2 separate regions of the Homo sapiens genome follow, and region 2 is linked to region 1. The links are contacts of gene promoters, found by promoter capture Hi-C in human tissues and cell types (Jung and others, 2019). All regions are on one chromosome and are shown on one strand. The core of a region is centred on a gene start or on the middle of the fragment in contact, and the rest is flanking DNA. Distances in the headings are between cores, read along the strand shown.

Region 1 (6,311 bases), core at 1,919-4,418:
TCTTTCACAGGGTCTTTGCTCTGTTGCCCAGGCTAGAGTGCAGTGGTGCAATCTGGGCTCACTGCAGCCTTGACTTTCTGGGCTCAAGTGATCCTCCCACTTCAGCCTTCTGAGTATCTGAGACAACAGGCATGTGCCACCACGCCCAGCTAATTTTTTATTTTTTTATTTTTTGTAGCAATGGGGTCGCTAGTCTTGAACTCCTGGGCTCAAGCAATCCTCCAACCTCGGCCTCCCAAAGTGCTGGGATTATAGGCATGTGCCCAGCCAACATGCACCGTTTTTTTGTTTTGTTTTGTTTTGGTTTTGGTTTGTTTGTTTGTGTTTTTTTTGAGATGGATTCTCTCTCTGTTGCCTGGGCTGGAATGCAGTGGTGCAATCTCGGCTCACTGCAACCTCCGCCTCCCAGGTTCAAGCGATTCTCCTGCCTCCTTAGCCTCCCAAGTAGCTGGGATTACAGGCACCTGCCACCACGCCCAGCTAAGTTTTTTTTTTTTTTGTATTTTTTAGTAGAGACGGGGTTTCAACATATTGGCCAGGCTGGTCTCAAACTCCTGACCTTGTGATCCGCCTGCCTCGGCCTCCCAAAGTGCTGGGATTACAGGCGTAAGCCACCGTATCCGGCCAACATGCACCATTTTTAAGCTGCTTTCCCCCTCCATTTACAGTATACTGTGACCATTTTTAAAAGTCAATGAAAATCTTTCTATATCATTTTAAATGATTATGTAGTTTTTCACCTAATTGATGGGGTTTTGGAGTGTTTTCAATCATTTGTGATTAAAATAAAACTGCAATGAATATCCTCACTCAACCAAAATATATCTTTTTGATGCTTCTGGGGAATTACATGATTAGGTCAAAGTAGATGAACTTCTTTATGTTTTCTTATGTTGCCAAGCCAGAAAGCGTGACTTCCAAACTCTCAAATACAAACCAGGTTCTTTGGACTAAATCAGTGTCTCGAATCCCCAGTAACCTCAGTTAACCAGTAGTGACACCGAAAAGCAGGGAATTCCAGAGCTGAGAGGAACTTTGAGGCCATCGGTGATCATATACCTCGTCTCCAGCTCAGAAAGAGGAGAATTACTTAGACATTTTCTTTAGAGATCTAAAACTTCCCAAAGTCCACAGTTTTATTTTCACACAATTCTAGGCTAACTTAAAATCAGCATTTTTGCATTATTCTTTCATTCAATATTTATATATTTATAATGAGGGGGTTAGATCAATAGGGGATTGGTGAAGTGATTTATGGTACAGCCATTCAATGAAATCTGATACAACCATTAAAAAACCGAAGAAGGTCTTCTTTTTTTTTTTTTGCTCTGTCGCCCAGGCTGGAGTGCAGTGGTACAATCTCAGCTCACTGCAACCTCTGCCTCCCAGGTTCAAGCGATTCTCCTGCCTCAGCCTCCTGAGTAGCTGGGACTACAGGTGTGCACCATGACGCCGGCTAATTTTTGTATTTTTAGTAGAGACGGGGTTTCACCATGTTGGCCAGGCTGGTCTTGAACTCCTGACCTCAAGTGATCCACCCGCCTTGGCCTCCCAAAGTGCTGGGATTACAGGTGTGAGTCACAGCGCTGGGCCAAAAACCGAAGAAGGTCTTTATGTACTAATACAGAATGATATCTCAAATACATCATCAAATGAAAAAAGAAAAATGCAGAACAGTGTACATAATATGCACATTTGTGTAAAAAGGAGGTAAAGGAATACATAGATGTTTTGCCATGGACATGCTGTTTGTGTATGTATAAAACATCTTTGGAAAGATACACAACAAACTGATAGTATAATACTTTGATTTCCAGGGAAACTAGGTGGCTGCGAAGAGACAGTTTTCACTGTGAAATCAAACCATTCACATGCTCAACCATGTAAATATATTACCTATTTAAAAATCAAATGTGGGCACGGTGGCTCAAGTGTAATCTTAGCACTTTTGGCAAGTGGATTGCTGGAGCCCAGGAGTTTGAGACCAGCCTAGGCAACCTGGAGAAACCCCATCTCTACAAGAAATACAAAAATTAGCCAGCCACGGTGGCATGCACCTGTAGTCCTAGGTACTCAGGAGGCGGAGGTGGGAAGACTGCTTGACCCCAGGAGGTTGAGGCTGCAGTGAGCTGTGATCGTGCCACCGCACCCCAGCCTGGATGATAGAGTGAGACTCTGTCTCAAAATAAATCAATACATAAAAATTAATGTAAAAAAACACAAAATGCGGGGACTAGGGCATTTGATTACATCACCAAGCAGATACATTTATTTACTTGTTTATTTCTCAAGTATGGCTGAAAATGTCAGTAAAGAAATAAGGGGCCAGGCGCGGTGGCTCATGCCTGTAATCTCAGCACTTTGGGAGGTCGAGGCAGGTGGATCACCTGAGGTCAGGAGTTTGAGACCAGCCTGGCCAACAAGGCGAAATCCTGTCTCTACTAAGAATGTAAAAATTAGCCGGGCATGGTAGCGCGCACCTGTAGTCCCAGTTACTCGGGAGGCCGTGGCAGGAGAATTGCTGGAACCAGGGAGGTGGGGGTTACAGTGAGCCAGTATCGCCCCACTGCACTCTAGCCTGGGCGACAGAGCAAAACTACGTCTTAAAAAAAAAAAAAAAAAAGAAAGAAAAAAAAAAAGAAAGAAAGAGAGAGAGAAAGAAAAGAGGACCATAGGTACAAAAAGAATTTGAGCGGGAACAAAAGATGGGCCACGTGAACAGACCGGTTATAACAATAATAGTTCTGGTTAACATTTAGCGAGTTACTGTCTGCCAGGCCCTGTGTTATTACGCGATCTCGACACGTATTACCTCATTTAATCTACAGATCAAGTAGGTAGGTTATTATGGCCATTTTCAGGTGAGGAAACTGAGGCTGGCAGAAGTTAATTAATTTGCTCAAGTCTCCATCGGTAGTTAAACGGAGTTTGGATTCTCAGTGAGGGCTGAACTCTGACCTAGAAGTGTGCCTTGCTTGAGAACCCTGGCTCTTCAGGCAGACGCTCAACCGTCTCCCGACTATTTTTCTGCTGTATTAGTGGCCGCTTTTGTCAGTATTTTGCAAGAGCTATCTGTATTTTGGTTACAGGGACTCAGCATAGGGAAGGATCCATCTCGGCAGAAGCCAGGAGTCGAGGCAGGTCAGCGCACAGAGGACAGTGGAATCCGAGGGGATGGCAGGAGATCAATCGGACCCAGAACAGAGGCCTGCAAGGATGAGCGCACTTGATCCCCTCAGAGAAAAAGCCAGAGTGACTCACAGGAGAAAGACAAAGCAACCAAAGCTTCCAGGGTGTACAGGAGGTCCAAAGTCACCAGAAGGAAGAAGAAAACCTGAAACAGCGAGAGCTGGCCAAACGCTGCTAAGACCTATGCAAATAAGACCCACCCACGCTACCTGGAAATCGGGCCTGGGAAGTCAGAAAACAAAGCACATGCGTGCAGGGCTGCACGAACGGAGGCGGAGGAGGCGGCTCCGAGGGAGCAGGTAAGGAGACAGAGAGGGTCGCGGAGGGACGGGTCACAGGGCTCCAGAGTCCAGAGAGGCAGCAGCCGTGCAGCGCGCGACAGGTGAACTCTGGCCTGGGAGGGCAGGCTACTGGGTTCATCTTTCAAACTCAGCCACTCTTTAGCTGGGAAGACTTCGGCAAGTTGCCTCACCCTTCTGAGCCTTGGCTTCCCCATCTAGAAAATGGGTCTAAAAATAATCATGCTAACTCTGTATTGAGCGCCTTCCGTATTCTACTGGGCACCGTATAGACTATTCCTTCCCCAGAGCAACCTTGTAGGAGTGGGATGATTAGCCTTTTTTACAGAGGAAAATGAAGTTCAGAGAGGTTAAGCCATTTGTCCAAGACAAATTGTTCCAAATCTGGTTCCAAAGCCGGCACCTTTCTACTCCCCATTCAGCCTCTCTCACAGGGTGGTTTTAGAGTATCAAATGGCTTTCTGCAAACAACAACAAAAAATCCCAAAAGGCTAGTAACCTATCTAGATGGATCACCACACTTAGATCTTAGCAAGGGCCAGGGCCCTTTGTAAACTGTGAAGTGCTATGGAAATGCCAGTTCTTGGTTGAAAACAATGGAGTGATGCTGGGGACAATTGATATTTGGCGATGACTTGTTCATAGACCAAGGAGATGACTTTGGGGCGGTGTTTAGGATTTACTGTAGCTGAGATGTCCTGGCTTGGGGTGGAGGTGATACATGGCCAGAATCTCTCCCCAGCTGATCCTGAAACAGCAGTGGATCCCTGGGAGAGCAGCACAGATAAAGATCCAGGCAATAATGATGCTTCCTCCTCTTGGACAGCCTTTTACAGTTCTGGCCATGGAACTTCAGAGAAGGTAGGTCTGATTTGGGGGGAAACAGGAGATCTTGACGTGTAGTAATACAAGCTTACTGGATGGAGTAAAGTTAGAATTTTCAGGTAAGAGAATTAAAAAAAAAAAAAAAACTTATAATCTTGCCCCCAGAGATAACCACTGCTAATATCTGGTTGTTTATCTCTCCAGACATTTTTTCCATTGCACACACACTTTTGGAAATTGGATTATATGGTAATATGGTTTTGTTGCTGGTTCTTTTTCGCTTAATGACATTATATCCTAGGTATATATCCATATTAATAGTTTTACCACATCATATTAAAGGCTGCATAATATCTCTTCCTATGGATGGAGCAGAATCTACTTAATCAATGTCCTATTACTGGATGATGACGTAGTTCTCCATACGTCACCGTTAAACCAGCGCCTGGATGGGCATCTCTTTACTCACATCTTTGCAGAAGTCCTTGATGGTTTCCGTGGAATCGATTCCCAGTGGGGGAAATGATGAGTCAAGGTTACATACAGTTTACGGCCTCTGGTAAGTATTAAAGATCTGCTTCTAACACACTCTGGGATTCAGGGGCTTCTCAAAGCTTGATGCAGAGGACTTTGTCACGGCTTTGAAATCAACCTTGACCCTTCCTTTCTCTCAAATCCATTTGCATTAATAATTTCAACTGCCTCATATATCCATAACAATGTTTTGATCAACAGTGAATTACATATGTGATGGTGGCCACCTAAGATTATAATACCATATATTTACCTTGCCTTTTCTAAGTTTATGTTGAAAGACACACGCAATTATCATTGTGTTACAATTGCCTACAGTGTTCAGAACATAATAAGCTGTATGGGTTTGTAGCCTAGGAGCAACAGGCTAGACCGTATAGCCTAGGCATGTAGCAGGCTCTACCATCTAGGTTTGTGTAAATACTCTCTGTGCTGTTCATACAACGATGTGTTTCTGAGAACATAGTCCCATTTTTAGGTCATGCATTGCTTTGTGGTCTTTACTGGGTGCTGGGCTCTAACTAAAAGCTTTACTAGTTTTGGCTTCCTTTGCACAAGGAGAAATAGAGGCACAGAGAGGTCAAGCAATTCAACTGGAATCACAGCCCTAAATAGCCATGGATCTGGCATCATGAACCTTGACAGAAACTACAACTGGATCCCTAGAACTCCACTGCTTCTTGGGAAGTGGCTTTGATTCTGTCCCCAAAGATATCACTTATCCCATCCCCTTTTATCTCCTCTGCCACTGCCTAACCTGCACCACCATCACACGCCTGAGCCACACTGCTGCAGCCCGAACGGGTGTTCCCTTCCCGATCTTATCCCTCTCAGCCTGTCCTCTGCTCTGCAGCTAGAATGGTGTTTTAAAAATGGAAATAGGATCAGGTACCTTACCCTACCGCTCACCCCTGGAATAAAATCCAGATGAGCTCCTGAGTTCACAGGTCCCGAGTACTATACCCTCCCACCTTGCCTACTCCGGTCACCACACCTTGATCACCCTGGGCTCCTTTCACTTTCTCAAATTGGAAGAGCTTTTCTCACCTCGGGGCCACACATGCTGTTCCCTGGGCCTGCAACGCTCTTCCTCCACTGTGCGTGGCTGGATTCCTATATACTTTGGTCTCAGCTCTTCTGTCATCTCTTTGCAGAAACCTTCTCTGGTGGTCTCATTGGGAGCAGCCACCAAGCACCCGAAGCCCATTTTCCTTTTTGCCCTTTATTAACAACCATTAAAATTGTGTATTTATTTATTGCCCATTATTCATTAAATGTCTTTTTGCCTCACTACACTCTAAATGTCATGAGGTCAAAGACAATGTCTATTTTGTTCACCATAATACCTTGCACAGCACCTGGGCTAGAGTAAGCACTCAATAATGTCCGAGTGGATGAATGGACTGCAGAATAAAGCACTGGTGCAGAGCCCTGCTAAACTACCCTAGTTTCGCTTAGGGCTCC
Region 2 (6,311 bases), core at 2,143-4,642, 300 kb before region 1:
ATGTAACAGCCCCAAACTGGAAATGACCAAAATGTCCCTCAAGAGGCAAATGGCTAAACGAACGGTTGTACATCCATACCACAGAATGTTACTCAGCAATAAATAGGATTGAACGCAACATAAATAGGATACCCACAACATCTTGGATGAAGCTCAAGGACGTTATACTGAGTGAAAAAAGACAATCTTAAAAGGTCACATACTGTACAATTCCATTTATATCACATTCTTGAAATGACAAAATTACATAGATGGAGAACAGATTAGTGGTTGCGAGGGGTTAGGGGTGGGGAATGGGTGTACCTATAAAAGGGTATCGAGGGAGGTCTTTGTGGTGATGGAATAGTTCCATGTCTTGATTGCGGTGGTGTTTATACAAATCTGCAGGTGATAAAATGACATAGAACTGTACATACGTATTGTCCCAATGTCAATTTCAATTTTTGATATTGTACTATAATTATGTAAGATGTGTTCATTGGGGCACACTAGGTGAAGGGTACATGAGACCTCGCTATACTATCTTTGCAATTTCCTGTGAATATATAATTATTTTAAACTTTAAAAGTTTAAAAAACACACACGTGCTTTCACTGCAGTGAGAACTTTCCCCAGGTAGACCCTGACCCTTCTGCCTCCAGGAAAAGTTACAGTGAGTAGTTCTGAGCCCAGCCCACAGGGAGGGGTCATGTCCCACCCAGCTCTTCCTAGGTCGGTTGACTACAGAAGCATAAGAGAGAATAAGTTATTGTTATTTGAGGCCAGTGTATTTTGGGGTGGGTTTTATTTATTTATTTATTTATCTTATTTACTTATTTTTGAGATGAAATCTTGCTTTGTCGCCCAGGCTGGAGTGCAGTGGCGCAATCTTGGCTCACTGCAACCTCCACCTCCTGGGTTCAAGCCTCAGCCTCCCATGTAGCTGGGATTACAGGCGTGTGCCACCACACCTGGCTAATTTTTATATTTTAGTAGAGACAGGGTTTCACCATGTTGGCCAGGCTGGTGTTTAACTCCTGACTTCTAGTGATCCGCCCCCTCCTCGGCCTCCCAAAGTGTTGGGATTACAGGCGTGAGCCACTGCGCCCGGCCTGGGGTGGTTTGTTTTGCAGCACTGTTGTATCAATAGTTAACTGACACATGCCCACTTGCCCCACTTCCTCTCCATAGCCTTACGAGAATGGATGTCTGTCATTGATGACAGTGGCGGAGACAGCTAGTCGTCCCCAACATCTGCTCAGCCTTTGTATTACCCCAGAGTAACAGAACCTCTGATTTTTATCTGGTCACATGGCTGTCTAGATTAACACTACATTTCTCAGCTTTCCCTCTTCTCATTTATTTACTTATTTATTTTCAGAGACAGGGTCTCACTATGTCACCCAGGCTTGAGTGCAGTGGCACCATCATAGCTCACTGCAGTCTTGAACTCCTGGGCTCAAGGGTTTCTCCCGTCTCAACCTCCTGAGTTCACTACCATGCCTGGCTGAGTTTTTTATTTTTTGTAGAGACAGGGTCTCACTATGTTATCCATAGTGAGGCTCCTAGTGAGGCTGGCCTCAAACTCCTGGCCTCAGGTGATCCTCCCACCTCGGCCTCCCAAAGTGTTGGGATTACAGGTGTGAGCCACTGCTCCCAGCCTCCTTCTAAACAAGTGTGGCCATGTGCTCAGTTCTGGCCAATGGGGTGTAAGGGAAAGTGTCATGTGACAGTTTCTGAGCACCTTCTCTAAGACATAACTGCAATTTACCTTTTACCCCCTCTTTCTTGGCCTCCAGCCTTGCGTGATGGCTGGAGCTCAAGCAGCCATCTTGGACAGGAAGTGGAAGCTACATTTTGAGGACGGCAAAGTAACAGACAAAATCAGGGTTCCTGATGATCACGAAAAGGCCATGCCAGCACTAGGCTGCTTCTACCTGAGTTTCCTTTATGGGAGAGAGAGAAACTTCTACCTTGTGTTTTTGTCACTTACAACAGAACTCAATCTTTACTCATGCAGTGGCTTCTTATCCAGACTTTTTGTTCATGGGCTTGTCCTGTGCAACCCACCATGCTAAGCAATATATGGCCTTTTATCCAATAAATAAGTATTTATTAAGCACCTACCATGCGCCAGGCACTGTGATTGATAAGCCTGGGGATACAGTGAGAAGACGGACAGGGTTCCTGCCCCAAGGGGCTTAAGCTTGAAAGGAAGAGACAGCGATGAATGAACATATGCGTGTGTGTAATTACAACCTGTGACAAGAGCCATGAAAGAGGAGGAGCAGGAGGCTTTGGGAGCAGTCAGCAGGGGCCCTCTTATAGTCAGGGTTATCAGGGAAGGCTTCCCTGAGGCAGTGACATCTAAACCAAGCTCTGGAGAAGAGGGGGAGGAATACAGCCTACTACTCAAGAGCACAGGCTTCAGAGCAAGCCCAGCCTGATACTGAGTACTGGGTAAACTGAGACCCAGAAAGTGAAGTAAGTTGCCCGAGTTTACACAACTAAGTGGAAGAGCTGGGAGTTCCCCTGAGCAATCTGTCCTCAGGCCTGGCCTCGGGGCACTAGGCTGTAGTGATTAATAATAATAGCTCTTAACTCCCAGGATTTTGGGGAGCATAAAAAAAGAAAATGTCAGTCAAGTACTTAGCACAGTGCCTGGAAAATATTAAATGTTAGCTATCATCCTCATCCTCCTCCTCCTCATCGTCATTAACTAAGGGAGCAGGGGAAAGAGTGTTCCAGGGAGGGAGGACTGCACGTGAAAGGCCCCAAATGGAAGGAAGCGTGGTGCATTCGAGGACCAGAAGGCAGACCAGCAGGGCTGAATGCAAATAGTTCACCCCTGCTTTTATTTGATCACAACAACTGTACTAGGTAACACCTATTATTAACTGGTTATAATCTCTTTAACTCTTTATAAATGTGGAAACAGTGGCCCAGAGAGGTTAAGCGACTTGCCGAAGGTCACGCAATAAAGAATCATCTGAACCTGGACTCAAGCCCAGGTCTGTCAGCCTCCAAAGCCCAAGCCCCCAGTTACCACCCTCCCCTTCCTTGGAATGGACAGAACTCGAGAGCAAGCCAGTTCCTGCTGCAATAGCACCTCAGAAGGAAAAGCTATACAGCCTGAGGCATCAGAGTCGGATGGCTCCTAGAGAGCACTTTGAACACGCCCCACCCATTTTTAAGATGGGGAAAGTGAGGCCCAGCGAGGAAAGGGACTTGCCACAGACAGATCGGCAGTGGAACTGGACTTATATTCCCAGACTGGAGGCTGTATTCCCCTCCAGTCTGGGGGCGGGCATCGGCTGTGCCTTGTTCAGGCCCTTCTTTTTTATATCTCCCTGGGGATAGCAAACTGAGCTGAATCCCCTGAGAGGGGTGGCTCCAGCAGGTGCTGTGTTTGTGTGTGCTGGGGGTAAAAAGTGGGGATGGACTTTGCCTCAAGGGCAGGAGCTTGTGAAAAACCAGCAGATCAGGTCCCCAGCCTGGCTGGAGGACACAGAGGGCAGTGTCCCCAGGGGCATGAACCCTGTAGACTGTGGAGCTCCTTGATAAACAGACTGCTCCATCCAAGTAGGCCTTCCAGTCCCCTGGGAAGCAGCTAAAAAGAGCCCTAGCAACTCGAATACACAGCTCACATACACTTGTGCATACGCACGCACGTGCACACACACCCCGCCGCGTACAGAGGCAGCTTGGCCTGGATCCCAGCCCCCCACACCCCCACAGAGCACCATCTGCCCCTTCCGAAGGTCCTCACGCAGGAGGAAAAGCTGGATTCTCCTTGTGTGTCAAGAGAAGAAGCCAAGGACCAGAGCAGAGAGGGGCCTCATCCAGGGTCACACAGAGGTTTGGGACAGATCTGAGCTCAAAGCCCAGAACTCCTGACTGCCAGGCCAGCTACCTGATGAGGCAGATGCTATTTGGTTGCCTTTGAAACAGCAGGCAGGCAGGACCCCGCTGAGCCCATGTGGAACCTAGGGCCCAAACCCCGCCCCCTTGGGGCCCTGCCCATGTCGTGTCATTGAGTCACTGCCTTGGAGCAGATGCGGGGGCAGCTTCCTCCTGCACAGCTGGTTGGGGCTTGGCCCGACAGTGCCTCCTGGACCAGCCTCCCTCCCTCTGCCCCGCAGGGCACACTCCCTCTGTGCCTGGCCTTGTGCTGAGGGTTCACACATATTCGTAAACCTGCCAAGTCCACGCGAGTCCCAGGAGGTGGAATTATTATTCCCATTTCATAGTTAAAACAACAGAGGCTCGGAGAGGTAAAGCAACTTGTCACACAGTTCTGAGAACTGAGATTCCTTGCAGGACCGGACATCCGCACATTCATAAACTCACCTATTCCTCGGACTTCCTTAGAAAAATTCTGCCCACAAGCCAAAGAGAACCAGCATCAAAAGCCCCCATCTGCAACTCCAGCTGAACCACTAAGTCTCACAGACTGGCTGCAGGTGTGGATTCTTTTGGAAAGCCCTGGCTGAGGCTGCCTGGAAGTCAGGGATAGAGGTCCCCATCCCTGTTCAGCCATGATGGGCTGTCCACTTTCTCTGAACCCTAATTTTCTCATTTGTAAACTGAAAATAATACTCAGCCCTTCCTCCCAGGGCTTTGTGAGGATCGATGGCAATGAGGCATGGAATGCGTGGTGTGTGCCTCTGCGTGGTCCTGGCTCCTATATCTACCTGCCACCTGGCACTGCCCTCCCCACCCCCAGCCATGCCTCCACTCTCTTCTGTACCCGGCAGATGGGATCAGTCCCACAGCTGTTCCTCAATCCCCCACTGCCTCCTCCCACCCAAGGAAGGGGGCACCACTTTCCTCCTCCCTTCCCTGGCTAGGGAGAGGACAGGCAAAGCCAGATGTTCCACAAATGTTGCCAGTTGTTAGCAAAACAACAACCAACAGGTGGCTTCTTTGAGACCCCTGTCAGGTCCATTGCTTGAGGGCCTGAGAGCTCTGAGGGAGCGGTGGGGCTGTGGAGGAGTCGCCAGGAGCCTGAGGTTTGGGCAGGAAGGGAGGTGAAGCAGAGAGGCCTTCAGGGGTGGGATGTCAGTGGGAAGAGTTTGGGGAGGGGACAGTAGGTTAAGGGACAAGGGGGTGCAGAGGCAGGGAGGTAGGGTGGGGAGCTGAGAGTTTGGTGCAAGCGAGAGGAGCAGGGAGGAGTGAAGCTGGAGAATCTGGTGGGTCCAGAGGTGGCTGCCTGGGCAGGAGACCTGCAGGGGTAGGACTAACCTATCCCTCCTTCCCCACCCTGCCCCAGGACCCGACTTCAGATGGAGAGAACTTTGGAACCCCCAAGGGGCTCCCAGGCCCTCCTGAGCTCCATCATGGAAGGAATCAAGCAGAAACTCTGGGGTCCTAAGTGCTGGGCAGCAGTTTAGACTCAATGGTCTCTTCCAAGCTGGAGAGTCTGGGAGGTCATAGCTGGCCCAAGACAGGTCAAGAGAGCACGTCACTCACATGGCAGAGGCCGAGAGCATGAGGGACTTGACTCTCCCACCAGGAGCCTGGCTGCAGTTGGCACCTCGGCAGCTATCATCCAACTGAGTGGCACCCCCTCCTGCTGGCATCCAACTGAGTGGCACTGCTGTGCCCTCTTGCCTCTCCACCCACCACAACCTATTTGCCAGCTGACCCCAACTGCTCCCAGCAGGGCCAAGACTGGGCAGCAGTACGGGAACAGGCTGTTTCTCACTTACTCCCTGGAATTGGCTGGCTTTGTCCTCCAGCAAAACTGTTCCTGGAAGGACAAGGATCTGGGGTCTGAGACCAAAGGCCCCCCCCATCTTCTCAGGCCTGGGCAAGTGGAGAATGTGACCTGTGACCTTGAATAATGAGATCGCTAACAGCAGCTCACGGTTATGAAGCACCTACCCCACGCCATGCACTGAACTAAACTTGTTGCATGCACGACCTCGCTTAGTCATTGCAACTCTGGGGTAAGTGCCAATGCGCACAATTTATAGATGAGAAAGCGGAGGGAAGGAGAGGGTACATGACTTCTTCAAAGGTTTGCAGCCATTAGTAAATGGTGGAGCCAGAGACTGAGCCCCAGAGCCTGACTCCAAGGCCCTTCAGCTCTACAGTGAAGAGTGCTGCTTCCCTTCCCTCCCCTCAGTCTTCCCATCTGTGGGATGGGGAGGAGCTGGTTGAAATGACATCACAGCTCTGTGATCCCACGTTGACCGCCTGGAATTGCCAGAGACTAGAGAGCACTGCTCCTTCCTCTCCTGTGAAAGAAAATGGGAACCAGCCCAAATGACACTGTACAGATGAGGCAACTGAGGCCTAAGCGGGCAGAGAATGTACCCAAGGTCCTC

Evidence for each region. The method cuts DNA at HindIII sites, captures the fragments that hold promoters and counts their contacts. A contact is called where the count stands out against the background at its distance.
Region 2: a contact is called between a fragment that was not itself captured here and the fragment with the promoter of RNF183 in region 1, in 1 of the 25 tissues and cell types used here (spleen).

The regions. Positions count from the first base shown.
Region 1 is chr9:113,300,233-113,306,543 of GRCh38, reverse strand. It overlaps RNF183 (ring finger protein 183), which reads left to right and starts at 3,168. Exons shown (of 5, transcript NM_001371237.1): 1 at 3,168-3,488; 2 at 4,231-4,349; 3 at 4,793-4,872. RefSeq lists an enhancer at 728-897. The HindIII fragment of the contact is 15,296 bases long and covers 1-3,843 here.
Region 2 is chr9:113,599,965-113,606,275 of GRCh38, reverse strand. No RefSeq gene overlaps it. Among named protein-coding and RNA genes, the nearest start is that of RGS3, 140 kb to the right of the region's middle. RefSeq lists a silencer at 3,964-4,043 and an enhancer at 5,944-6,311. The HindIII fragment of the contact is 8,415 bases long and covers 1-6,311 here.